Regions from separate parts of the Homo sapiens genome. Here all the other regions are linked to region 1. The links are contacts of gene promoters, found by promoter capture Hi-C in human tissues and cell types (Jung and others, 2019). All regions are on one chromosome and are shown on one strand. The core of a region is centred on a gene start or on the middle of the fragment in contact, and the rest is flanking DNA. Distances in the headings are between cores, read along the strand shown.

Evidence for each region. The method cuts DNA at HindIII sites, captures the fragments that hold promoters and counts their contacts. A contact is called where the count stands out against the background at its distance.
Region 2: a fragment that was not itself captured here is called in contact with the fragment with the promoter of SDCBP2 in region 1 in 5 of the 25 tissues and cell types used here (H1 embryonic stem cells, liver, mesenchymal stem cells and 2 more).
Region 3: a fragment that was not itself captured here is called in contact with the fragment with the promoter of SDCBP2 in region 1 in 1 of the 25 tissues and cell types used here (H1 embryonic stem cells).

What each region holds. Positions count from the first base shown.
Region 1 is chr20:1,327,182-1,331,516 of GRCh38, reverse strand. It overlaps SDCBP2 (syndecan binding protein 2), which reads left to right and starts at 2,378. Exons shown (of 9, transcript NM_080489.5): 1 at 2,378-2,432. All of the region lies in intron 2 of FKBP1A-SDCBP2 (FKBP1A-SDCBP2 readthrough (NMD candidate)), which reads left to right. All of the region lies in intron 1 of SDCBP2-AS1 (SDCBP2 antisense RNA 1), which reads right to left. The HindIII fragment of the contact is 26,056 bases long and covers 1-4,335 here.
Region 2 is chr20:1,176,007-1,180,291 of GRCh38, reverse strand. LOC124904855 (a long non-coding RNA gene) reads right to left here. Exons shown (of 2, transcript XR_007067486.1): 2 at 340-4,285. Among named protein-coding and RNA genes, the nearest start is that of TMEM74B, 6.8 kb to the left of the region's middle. The HindIII fragment of the contact is 5,387 bases long and covers 1-4,285 here.
Region 3 is chr20:1,128,376-1,132,714 of GRCh38, reverse strand. All of the region lies in intron 3 of PSMF1 (proteasome inhibitor subunit 1), which reads right to left. Among named protein-coding and RNA genes, the nearest start is that of PSMF1, 12 kb to the right of the region's middle. The HindIII fragment of the contact is 3,650 bases long and covers 1-3,400 here.

The sequences.
Region 1 (4,335 bases), core at 1,129-3,628:
GCGAAATGCTGTCTCAAAAGAATGACCACTGTAGAGCTAATAACTTGGCCCTGCCCTCAGGGAACTTAGGGTCTAACTAGTAGCCTAAAAGGTACACATGAGTACAAGATGATGATTATTAAAGAATGGAACAGGAGCGTCTGATCCAGAGTCAGAGGCGGGAGAGGCCACATGGATGTGGGGGATCCCAGAGGCTTCCTGGAGGAGCTCAGTGGTGGATGTGGCTAGGTGGGTGGGGGCAGGAGAAGGTGTTCCAGGGGCAGCAGCAGGACAGGCAAAGGTATGGAGTCAGGGCAGGTAGGAAGTGGGTGTGCAGTGGGGCAGGAATGGTGGGGCTCCCAGTCCAGCTGAGGCAGAGGTGCTGGGGGAGTGCTGAGGAGGTAATAAAGGGAGTGGGCTGTGGAGGTCTCCATGTCAGCCCTGGGAGTTTAGCCCAGACCCTGAAGCAGGAGGGAGCCACTGAAGAGTTCGAGCAAGGGCATGCCCAATGAAAGATATTTCCAGGTGGCTGGAAGTCAGTGATGGGTGGCAACTATCCAAAGAGGGAATAGAAAGAGAGTCCCTGTAGGTATTAAATAGGTGGGAGTTAGGGGACCTGGGCTCCATGCTGACATGCTGGGACCACAGGCAAGCCCCTTACCTGGAAGGGCCTGCTTCCTCCTCCCTCTTCTATAAAGGCCCTTTCAGGTCATGACTGAATGAAGTGAGGTGGGGGAGGAGTGGCTTGGTTTAGTTAGGATCTCTATTTTCCACTTTGCTTTGGCCTTGGACACCTGACCTAAGGTGGGTCCATCACCCACGTTACCTCAGCTTCAGGCCCACACAGCTTACTCTGAGGTTGCCCCACACCTCAGCTTTCTGAAACAGTATGTCCCATAGAAGAGAAGACATGAACTTGGCCCACTTTCCAGCTAACTTGAGAGAGAAACTTTGCCTCTGTGCCTCAGTGTCCCCACCTGGAGGAATGGTGTGAGTCACACCTACTCTGCAGGGATGGCATGAGAAGCCATTGAGATAATGCCTTTAAAGTGCCAGGGGTAGAATCTCTGTGCTCTCTGGGAGTAAGTGCTGAATTAGTGGCAAATGTCTTTCTTGTTATTATTCCTATTGTGTGTTTCCTGTGTGGGACTCTGGGCTGTAAGCTCTTCATTGGCAGGCACAAGATCTGACACCCAAGGCTAGTGCAACTCTGCCAGGTGGGTCATGGGAACTGTGACGTAGGCCTGCCTGGCCCAGGAAGCAGCCCAGATACTGACACACCCTGAGTGTGTACAGCGTCAATCCTCATGGGACTGCCCAGCACACGAGTCCCTCGTCCCTCCCCAGGCACCCAGTGCGACAGGCACCCTCACCCAACCAAACCCACCAGGATCTAAACTAAATTCTTCCTCCTTTTCTGTTCAAATTTATATAATTATTTTTGGAATAAGTAGTACATTTAAACTTTTCAAAATTTAAGACACCAAAAATGTGCCATAAAAAAAAAAATCTCCACCTCAGCACACAGCTCCTTAGGTCTGCTCCCAAGAGACAACCACTCTAAATTCCCATTAAAATAATCAAACTTAATTGCTTCCCCCTTACAAAAGTCATGAGCATTCAGAGCAAAAGCTAACTTAAAAAAAAAAAAACCACCTTGGAACACACAAAAGTACAAACTGAAAACCTCACCCTCAATGCTGCCATTCAGAGATACTCAGCATTTTAGCGTATGTCCTCCTAGACTGCTTTCAACGCACATCCACTTTACAAAAAATGAAAACAAAATGCAAGAAGAGATTCACAATATTGATTTTTCAACATCTCACTAGAATCTCAGAAATGTTTCCTCATACCTTCTTCCTTAAGTGACTTTAATAGCTCTGTGATCTTCCACAGACAATGATTTATTCAAGCAGACCACAGAGATGGGCATTTGGGATTTCTACATTTTCCTTACTAGAAGCAGCAGTGATGGATGGGCCCTGTGACTCCACTGTAACAAATTCCTAGAAGAAATGCTGGGTCACAGGATATGACCACTTTTTAATATCCTGGCCTAGACCCCTAGATACCTATCACAAACCGCCCTCTAGCCAACTGCCTCGATCAGCAGGACTAGGTGTCCAACCCAAATTTAGAGCTATTTAAGAAAAGGCCAAGAAGTCTTGGTTCATAACCGTCTGAACAGCAGCTGTGAGGGCCTTAATCCCACCTCCAAATCCAGACTAAGGCCAAAGGCCTCCTCTGGGCTGGCAACCTGCCTTGTTTACCCAGCCACAGCCCTCACCTGTGCCCATCCCAGTCCAAGGTGAGTCAGCTGAACAGGGGACAGGCACCACCCTTCCCAGATCAGGAAGCCAGCTGAGAGACAGGGCTACGTTTCAGGGAGGGAAACAGATTCAGCAGCGGCAGCAGCTGGAGAAGGTCGTGGAGCAGCACCTTGCCTGCAGGTAAGCGCTGGGGGCCCTGACCCAATCCTGGCTGGGATTGGGATGAGTGAGACCTGCTCTCACCCTGTCCCCTTCCCTCCCTGCCCCTTCCCTTCTGGGACTTCCCAGGCAGCTTCCTTTCGAAGTGCTTCACTCCAAGCAGTCAAGTGTGAAGTGGGGTTTCTTCTTCTGATCCCAGCCCTGGACCAAGTTTGATTAAGGGCTGAGTGATTTTCTTCACCCAGACATCATGAGGGCCCCCGATGCCTTCTGACTGCCCATGACTGTGCTCAAGGAGATGAGATCCACACTTTGCTCCTTGAAAGGCCAATTCCAGCCGAAACCAGAGGCTGCAGGCAGGCAAAAAGCCCATTTCTCCCAAGGAATCCACAGCTCAGGCCGACTTCTCTGGCCTGAGGCTGTTTCTATCAAAAAACCTTCCTGCCACAGCACTGAAACACCTGCTGGGGAACTGCGCCAGGGGCTTCACCTTTCTAAGAACTGGTTTCTTCATCTGGAGACTGAAAATAGCCCACAAAGTCAGGAGAATGGAAGGACATACTGGACACAGGAGCCAGTGCATGCCCTCCTCAGCAGGGTCTCAGAAAATGGGGCAGAAAACGAGCCTGGTATGGGCTGGGCGAGCACTGGACAGGCAGCTTCACGTACAGTGGCCCAAGCTCATGACAATTCCACCACCATCACTTCCCACCTGGGCTCCTGCTCCCACTCCTGCCCTGTAGCCCATCCTCCAAACATCAGCCAGAGGAGGCCTGTCAAAATAACCCTTGGACCTTGGCACTCTGCTGCTACAAATCCCCCAGTGGCTCCCATCTCACTACAGTAAATGCCAAAGTCCTCACCATGACCTCCAGGCCCTCCAGGATCTGGCCCCTCTCACTTCTCCAGCTTCCTCCCCACTACTCCTCCTTACTCCCTCTCTGCACAACTGGCTTCTCACTGGCAGATGTCCTCTAAACACAACACCAACTCCCACCTGAGAGGCTCTGCAATGGCCGTGCCCACCCCATTAGGCCTTTCCTCAAATGTCACCCCACCCAGCCAGCAAGGCTTCTGAACCTCCTGACATGACCCTCCGTCCTGCTCTTTCTCTCCAGTGCCTCCCACCATCTAACACAGCACACAGAGTCACAAAGCCTATTTATCCAGCTCTTCCCCCAAAGAAAGTACATTTGGGGACCAAGTCTTCTTTCCTTCACTGCTGATACCTAGAACAGTACTCAGACTTAGCAGGTGCTGAGTAAGTAAGCGCTGAAACAATGAATAAACAGCTAACTTTTACTGAATGCCTATTATGTGCTAGGTGCTGTGCTAAATGCTTTCCATATACACCTTAACTCTTTTTAAAAATCTTTCAGTCTCCAGACAACTGTGATGCAACTATTGTTATCCAGATTACAAAGGAAGAAATGACATTCAAAGGGGATTTGCCTATGCTGTGCTCTCACAAGTCAGAAGCAGTCAGTCTGAACCCTGCCCTGCCTGGGCCTGGGTTCAGGCGTGTCTGCTTGAGGAAGTCACAGCTTTTCCCCAGCAGGCAGTGCAGCACTGAGAGGAGGAGTGGGGGTACATGCTGGTGGCCTAGCAACAGCTTCTTCTATTCCGACTCACCACATCCCTGGGCTAATTTGGCCTTCCAGGAGCTATTCCTCTGACACTCTAACCCACGCTTCCCTCCCGCGCACTGTCTTGTAAAGGACGGATGAGCTGTCCACAGGAACGAGTGGGAGTTCCATCACTTCAGCTCTTTGGAACAAAGTGTTCCAAAGAGTGTTCTCACTCTAAGTTCAAAGATGGGGGCTGAAGTCCCCTTGTCAGCCCTGCTGATCTCCGAAGCCCAGCTATTGGTTTGTTGTGGGTGTTGTTATTGCTTATATCAAAAAGTACAGAAGCTCAGGGATGG
Region 2 (4,285 bases), core at 453-2,952, 150 kb after region 1:
GCCTTCAAGTGAGGGGGTTGGACTGGATGACCCCTCAGGTCCCTCTAGTTCTTCCCTGGGAATGGGAACCCAGTCTCTATCTCCAGTCACCCCTCCAGGGCAGGAAGGCATCCACCAGGCACTAACCATTCTCCCTGCCATTTTCTGGCCTGACCTCAGGGACCACCACAGCCAGCAGCTCTCATGGTCTCAGGGAAGAGCTCCCTGGTGGGGTTGGGTTCAGTTCAAAGTTTGCTACAGCCTGGTTTTGGTCTTGGGGTCTAATTTCCTGCAGTGACACATTTTTACAAAGCCAAGTGCACAATATTACCCAGTTCTCTGGGCAAGAAGGATCTTTTACACAGGAAAGGGTGAGGGCTTTATTGTATTTCTGTGGGCATGATGCAGGCCTTGATCACCTTCTCCTCCATAGTATGTCTCTTGCTCCTGACCTTATTTGGATAACAGGAAAAAAAAAAATTTATGCTGAATTTGTAACCTTAGTCTCCCTCATATAGTAGTAAAGTGAAGCCACAGTTTATTTGGGGGAGAAATCAGGCACATTTGGGTGGCCTGGACACGCTGGCCACATTGCCATTTGTGTTTTTCTTATGAAATGTTTCTAGGTTCCTGCAGACTTTCTTTAAACTCTTGGTAAGGAAAGGAAGTAGGCCCTGGGGCAAGGAGATACAGGTGTTTGAGGACTGTGGGGAGGCATCCTTCAGTCTGAATGGACCCAGAGGGCTTTGAGAGCACATGCCTTCTAAGCCACTGGTGTAGAGACCCTACAGGAGCCATTTTAGTGAATCCCCTGCCCAATGTAGGTCCTACTTACTCCATCTCAGTTGGCCACATGGGCCGAGGATCCTGTTCCTTGGGGGTGGGAGGGTGGGGGGGCATGGGGTCTGTAGTGTAGAGAGGCCCTGATTAGCTGTAACTTGAGCCTTCAGTCCAGTGAGTTAAACATCTGGGGAGTGTAATATCACAGCTTCTATGACAGATCAAATATCTGCTCCTACTGGTAGGTTTTACCAAGAGCAGAGAGCTAGAGGAAGACTGGAAAGGACAAGGGTTGTTTAGCTTGGCTTCCCAGGTTTTTGTTGTGGTATTGAAGGGGTATGGTGTGGAAAGAGCAAAGCTCCAAGATGGTAAAAGATTCACAAGTCCTAGGCTTCCACTGTTGTGTCGCTTTCTCCCAGGCTCCAAGTAGGCACAGCCACAGAACGTGGCATGAGCTGTTCTAAGTAAACTACATAGGATTGGACATCCCAAATCATGGGCTAAGGCTTTTCAATCCATAATGATAATTAAAAAAATATCAACCAAGTCATATGGATTACTGTGATGGTGGCAGACTCATTTGGATACTAAACCTGTTGAGTGAATGCATCTGGGACCATCAGTTCATATCAGTTTAAATGCAATGAGTTTATTTAGGGGAGAAATTGGGCATATTTGGGTGGCCTGGACATGCTGGCCGCACTACCATTTGTTTTTTTCTTACGAAATGTTTGATGTTAATCATCAAACAGATTTAGGGGCTAAATCTGTTTGATGATTAAATCCCAGGAGTCTCAGGTTTTTCTAAGCCAGAGAAGCCTGCTTTGCATTCTAATGTTGAAAGTCCTTTAGAAAATGTGTATAATGGACTGAGGCGTTATTACCTTGTCAGTGAATTAAGAAAACTTAAGAGATGACAAAAGCATTTCCCCATGATTACAGCTGAGATCTGCCAGCTGATGGATCAGAAACAGGTTTAAGGAGGAGGTGATTAGGAACACGGAGTAGGATGCTGAGAACTTTCTTTGCAGGCATTCCAGGGGCCTCTGTGGTTACTGGAATGTGCCTCTCCTCCAGGAACTGCCTCTCCCACCTAACCTGCTCCTAGGGCCCCAAACCTTGCTTTTCCTGGTGCATCAGAACAGATACCGATTTTGGAGTTGGTAAGACTAAAGTTGGAATCCAGGCTCTGCCACTTACTGGCTGTGTGACCTTGGGCAAGTTACTCCACCTCTCTGAGTCGGGATTTCTCTATCTGTGAAGTGGGATTAATGAAAGCTCTGCCTCAGGGTGGTGGTGCAGATTACAGATAAAATGGAGAACTGCATAGTATGAGGTCCAGGGATGATGATGCTCTCCTTCCCCACCTCAACTGGGGATAGCTGGATTAGGCCTCAAACGCTGTGGTCAACCCTTCTGCCTTTCTTCTATCACACCTCACATTCCAGATCAGCGCATCTTGTCAGCTCCACTTTCAGAATCTGATTGCTGTCCACCCTCGGCTGTCACCGCCAGTCCAGGGTTGCTCACTGGTGTTCTGGCTTTCTCTCTTACCCCCTTCTCCTCCCCTCCTCCCCGCCCCATCACCAGGTTCATGCTCCACTCAGCAGCCAGAGGAAGGCCAGAGGCTGGTCAGGTCAGGCCACTCCTCTGCTCAAAACTCTCCTATGGCTCCCTCTCCAGGCAAAAGCCAAAATTCTCACCACAACCAGTGGCAGATTTATAGCAAGACTGGCAAAGCTTAAGTGTCCGGGCCTCTCACTAGCACAAGCCCCTTCCAAGGCCCTGAATTGGTTTATCTATCTTGAGGATGCCCCACTGGACTGCATAAGCTTCAGGTACCCCCAAACCAGGGTTCATCCCTCACAGTGGCCTACAAGGCACTAAGCAATTGGGACCCTGTGCTTCTCTGACCTCATCTCTCACCCCTTACCCCTTGCTCACTCACCCCAGCCACACGTGCCTCTTGACCATTCCTCAACCTTACTGGGCACGCTCACATCCAAGGGACTTCAGACGTGCTGCTTCTTCTGCCTGGAAGGTACTTCCCCTCAGTATCTGCAAGGCCCACTCCCTCACCTCCTTAGGGGCTTTATTCAAATATCTTCTCCTCAGTGAAGCCTTTGCTGAACACCATATTTAAATTTGTACCCCACCCCACCTCATTCCCTTTTGTCCTTCGCTGCCTTATTTTTCTCTGATCACTAATCATGACCCAGCAGGCTGAGCCTTGTACTTGTCTTTCCCACCCACGACCTCTCCTGCTGGACTGCAAGCTCCATGAAAGCCGGAATTTTGGTCTAACTGGTTCTTGCTGTACTCCCAGTGTTAGAAACATGTTTGGCACATAGTAGGTGCTCACTGTTGAATGAATGGATGAATAAATGTAACAAAAGCTTCTTATACCTGCCAGTGCTGCAGAGCCATATGCAGGACCCAGGAGGCCCATGGTTCCTTCCCAGACTCCTGGAGCCCTCTCTAGGGGTGAGGATCAGTTGTGCAAAGGATCACATGCCTCAAAGGTGCTGATTTTGTCACTGGGCCCTGCAGCTGGGAACTTGGGAATCCATTTGCCTTCCTCTCCCTGGGCCTTGGTAGGGCTTTATGTGGAAGGGTTAGAGGGGTGTCCCTCAGAAGACCCTTCTCCCCTAACCTTGTTGGGACATACCCAGGTTCCAGCTAAACCTGGGAGACATTTGCTGGGTGTTTAGGGGCCTGTGAGAAACCAGCCGGATTCTTCCCATCCAAGGACCTTGAGTGCCCAGGCCTGGCCCTTTGGAACCCCAGTATCCATGATCACATCTACTCACTTACCTCAGGCATCTCCCAGCCCAAAATGCCAGCTGCCTGAGATTCCACCATTTTTGCTCCCTTCCTTGAGAATAAGCATTAATTTCCCTGGGATTCTCTTTAAAATGTCCTCACTGAATGGACATGTCTGTACATACACATGTGCATATGTGCAAGAGCACACACATGCGCTTGCACGTACACACACACACACAGAGCTTTCTCTTGTCTGACCAAGCCCAGAGACCAAGGACACCTATCTTGTAAAGCAGCTTCAAGCCAGGACATCCTCTGGATGATTGACGACATTTTCTGTTTCTCCACCAGCCATAGGCCTTGCAGTTCCCAGAATGCCAACCTCACAGCAACAATCAAGTTTCTCCTCCCCAGGCGAGGCTGGTTTCTCTGTATTTTTCCTGCTTCCCCCGCCCTTAGCAGGATGGGGAGAGATGTCCAGAAGCATTTCTGTCCTGGCATTTCTGGAGGGGACTGTGTGATCCTGGGCTGGGAACCAGGAGAGCTAGGTCCTGTTGGTCACCCCTTCTCTCTGTGGGCCTTTGGGCAAATTACTCCATCTCTCTGGTCTACCAGAGGAAAATTGGAAACCTTCCCACTCTGCCTTCTCTGAAAGCTGGGGGATCAGATAACACAAGCAGAGGACTTTCCAAAGCTTGGTACTCTGTGTCTGGAGAGCTTTGAAGGGGCAGGAGTAGAGGGGAAGGGAGGCATTATTAAG
Region 3 (4,339 bases), core at 326-2,825, 200 kb after region 1:
AGATATATCATGTTCATAGCAAGAATGTCAATTCTCCCCAAACTAATCTATAGGTTTAATGCAACTCCTATCAAAATCCTAGCAAGGTTTTTCATAGATATACACAAGCTTACTCTAAAGTTTATATGAAAAGGCACAGAGGCCAGGTGCGGTGGCTCACGTCTGTAATCCCAGCACTTTGGGAGGCTAAGATGGGTGGGTCACGAGGTCAGGAGATCGAGACCATCCTGGCTAACATGGTAAAACCCCGTCTCTACTAAAAATACAAAAAATTAGCCAGGCATGGTGGCACGCATCTGTAGTCCCAGCTACTCAGAAGGTTGAGGCAGGAGAATCACTTGAACCCCGGAGGCAGAGGTTGAAGTGAGCCAAGATCACACCACTGCACTCCAGCCTGAGCCTTTTTGAGACACAGTGAGACTCTGTCTCAAACAAAGAAAAAAAAAAAGAAAGAAAAAAGAAAAAAAAGAAAAGGCACAGAACCTAGAATAGCTACAACTACCTTGACGAAGAAAAAGTGGGAGGAATTATTCTACTCAATATTAAGGCCTACAATAATCAATACTGATAGAGTAATATTGACAGAGGAAGAGACATAGAGATCAATGGAAAAGAACAAGGGATCCAGAGATAGATCCACAGATGTACAGACAACTGATTTTTGACAAAGTTTCAAAAGTAATTCAATGAAGGAATAACAAATGATGTTGGGGCCATTGGACATCCATGGGTAAAAAATGAGCTGCTTGCCTGCCCAAGCTGGGTGGGAGGGTAAATTCAAGTCTTCTTTCCTTTTAATCAGATCAGAGGGAGGCCTCTGATCTCCCTAGGCATGTGTAAAATTCAGGCCTGATTAAAAAACCACCAGGTCCTGAAGGAGAAGTTCTCACACAATTTCTAAGCCTTGAAAGAACAACTGCCATTTTGGTTGTGGCAAAAGACAGCCTACCATCTCATCCGACACAGAAAGGGTACAGCAGAATGGAACACAATAGGTTTATATTTCTTAGCAAATCACAGTTTGCTCACTGAGGAGCACAAATTGCTGGAAGAGGCAAGACATGCCACAATGACCTAATAAAGAGGGCTACATGGAGGAAGCTATGGCTGAAAGGCATAGGAGGGAGACAGGGCCTCTGATCAGGAGGCAGAGCCATACCTCAGCTTTCACCGCCCATTTCCACGGAGATGACTCCTGGTGATCACATTTTTTTCCCCTTTGTGTATTTTACTAAGAGCTGGACTAAGCGCTAAGCACTCTATGTGCTGACATCTCATTCCATTCTCAGAAAAACCCTGAGGTAGTACTATTGTGTCCCTCATTTCACAGTAATCAAAAAACAAAACAAAACACAACACATATCCCCTCCCTCACACACAAACCCCTCAAACAAATGTACTTAAAAAACAAATAGAGACAGGATCACAATTCTCTTTCAGTATTGCTGAACAGACGGAATGCTCTAATGAGCATGAATGGCCAGTATAATTCCTAGGTTCTTCCACAGGTTTTGTCAATTTCTCTCCCAGTGGAAGTCCAGAGTGAAGAAGTCAAGAGACCACACTCCAAATGTCCCTCCCTTACCCACTAAGAGGGGCCAGGGTGTCAGGGAGTGTGCAACACCCAGAGGCGCGGCATTCTGCCGGCCAGGCCTGGCTCACTTCCCCCTTTCCTCAGAGGCGCAGCATTCTGCCGGCCAGGCCTGGCTCACTTCCCCTTCCCTCCCTTTGTCTATTGCATGCAGAAGACACCCAAACCCTGCCCTCAAGGAGATCACAGGCAAGGAGGGAAGACCAACCCTAAGAAGGTAAATGTAAAATATCTGATGGATTAAATGCTTAAAAAATGATGTTTTGATCCAGGGCAACACAGCAAAGACCTCATCTCTACAAAAAATAAAAAACTGGCTGGGCATGGTGGCACATGCCTGTAGACCCAATTATTTGGGAGGCTCAGGTGGGAGGGTCACTTGAGCCCAGTAGGTTGAGGCTGCTTGGCCTGTTTATAAGTGAGCTGATTGTGCCACTGTACTCCAGCCTGCCTGGGCAACAGAGGGAAACCTGACTCCAAAAAAAACATTTTACTAAAATGTTTTGAAGCTGTAAGCCTGGGGGCCAGAGGAAGCTTCTCTAAGGAACTGACGTTTAAATCGGTAACCAAAAGATAAACAGGAGTTGGCTACGTGAGGTCAGGGAGAGCACTTTAGACAGAGGGAAGAGGTCTGAAGAGGGCAGAAGAATGACACTGTGGCTGAAGCACAGGGATGCGGGGAAGGCAGTACAAGGTGAGATTGAAGGGGTGAATGCTTTAAGGCCTCATCAAGGATTGTGCTCTTTATCCTAACAGCAATGAGTATTCCCTAAAGACTTTTAACTGTGGTAAAATATGCATAAAATTTACCATCTTAACCATTTTTAAGTGTTCAGTACTGTTAAGTACATTAACACTGTTGTGCAATCACCTACCATCCATCTCCAGATCTCTTTTCATTTTGCAAAACAAACTCTGTACCCATTAATCACTAACTCCCCTTCCTATTCCCCTCTTGCCCCAGTATCTGGCAACCACCATCCACTGTCTGTCTCTACAAATTTGACTAATCTAGGTACTTTTAATAGAATCACACAGAATTTGTCCTTTTGTGAATGGCTTATTTAATTTAGTATAATGTCTTCAAGGTTCATCCATGTTGTAGCACGGGCCAGAATTTCCTTCCTTTTTAAAGCCGAATAATATTCTACTGTATTTACATACCAAATTTTGTTCATCCATTCATCTTATCAATGGACAGCCAAGCTGCTTTCACCTTTTGGCTACTGTGAATAATGCTTCTACGAACATGGGTGTACAAATATCTTTTCAAGACCTACTTTCAATTCTTTTGGGTATATGCCCGGAAGTGGACATGCAGGATTATACGGTAATTTTTTGAAGAACTGTCATATTGTTTTCCATAGTGGCTGCACCATTTTACATTCCCAAGAGTGCACAAGAGTTCCAATTTCTCCACATCCTTGACAACGCTTGTTTATTTTCTGGTTATTCTGATACTACCCATCGTAATGGGTGTGAAGCAGCATCACTGAAGGGTTTTAAGCCAGAGTTGTTAACTATGATCTGATCTATGTCTGAAAGACTGGTCCAACTGCTGCGTGGGAAATACACTGGAGGGTGGCATGCAGGAGGGGAATATGTAAAAGACCTCCTCACACAGAAGCTGCATGGAAGAGGGGAGGAGAAATGAGGAGTGGCCAGAATGTGGAGGCCAGTGGTTTGAAAGTCTGTGAGGACTGGAATAGGTTCAAAGAGGGTATTGCTGATTAGATACTATTAAATGCAACAGGGTTTCTGGGCAGTTCTGAGGTTCGGTTAAGGTTTGATAACTGTGCATTTATAGTGATGCCAAGCTCACTCTAAAACTCTGAGGGTGGCTAGGTGCGGTAGCTCACACCTGTAATCCCATCACTTGAGGTCAGGAGTTCGACACCAGCCTGGCCAACAGCAAAACCCTGTCTCTATTAAAAACGCAAAAATTGGCTGGGTGCAGTGGCTCACGCCTGTAATCCCAGCACTTTGGGAGGCCAAGGCAGGTGGATCACGAGGTCAGGAGATCGAGACCATCCTGGCTAACATGGTGAAACCCCATCTCTACTAAAATACAAAAAAAAAAAATTGCCAGGCGTGGTGGTGGGCACCTGTAGTCCCAGCTACTCGGGAGGCTGAGGCAGGAGAATGGCGTGAACCCGGGAGGTAGAGCTTGCAGTGAGCCGAGATCGCGCCACTGCACTCCAGCCTGGGTGACAGAGCAAGACTCCGTCTCAAAAAACAAAACAAAAAAACGCAAAAATTAGCTGGGTGTGGTGGTGCACACCTGTAATCCCAGTTACTCGGGAAGCTGAGGCAGAAGAATTGCTTGAACAGTCACACTGTACTCCAGCCTGGGTGACAGAACTAGACTCCACCTCAAAAAAATAAAATAAAATAAAAAATAAAACCCTGAGGAGGTCAATGAAGATGGGGGGAAAATCCCTATAATGGAATAAAGCAGACATAAATCAGCTTAACTATATATAAAACAGATAATTTCATTATACTGATTTTAAAAACAAGCACTAATCTAAGTACCTTTGGAACACACTACTCTGCCTACATCTTTTGTGGAACATAGTTAAAAGACAAAAAGAACTGGAAATAAGTCATTTGGAACTTTACTTAATAGGTTTGTTCTTGGTAGGCACTGATGTAGCAATTCAGAAAATATTTGTGTGTATTCTAGGATCAAATAAATAAGTAAATACATTGATGCTGCTGGGAATCAGGGTTCTCACCACAGGAGAA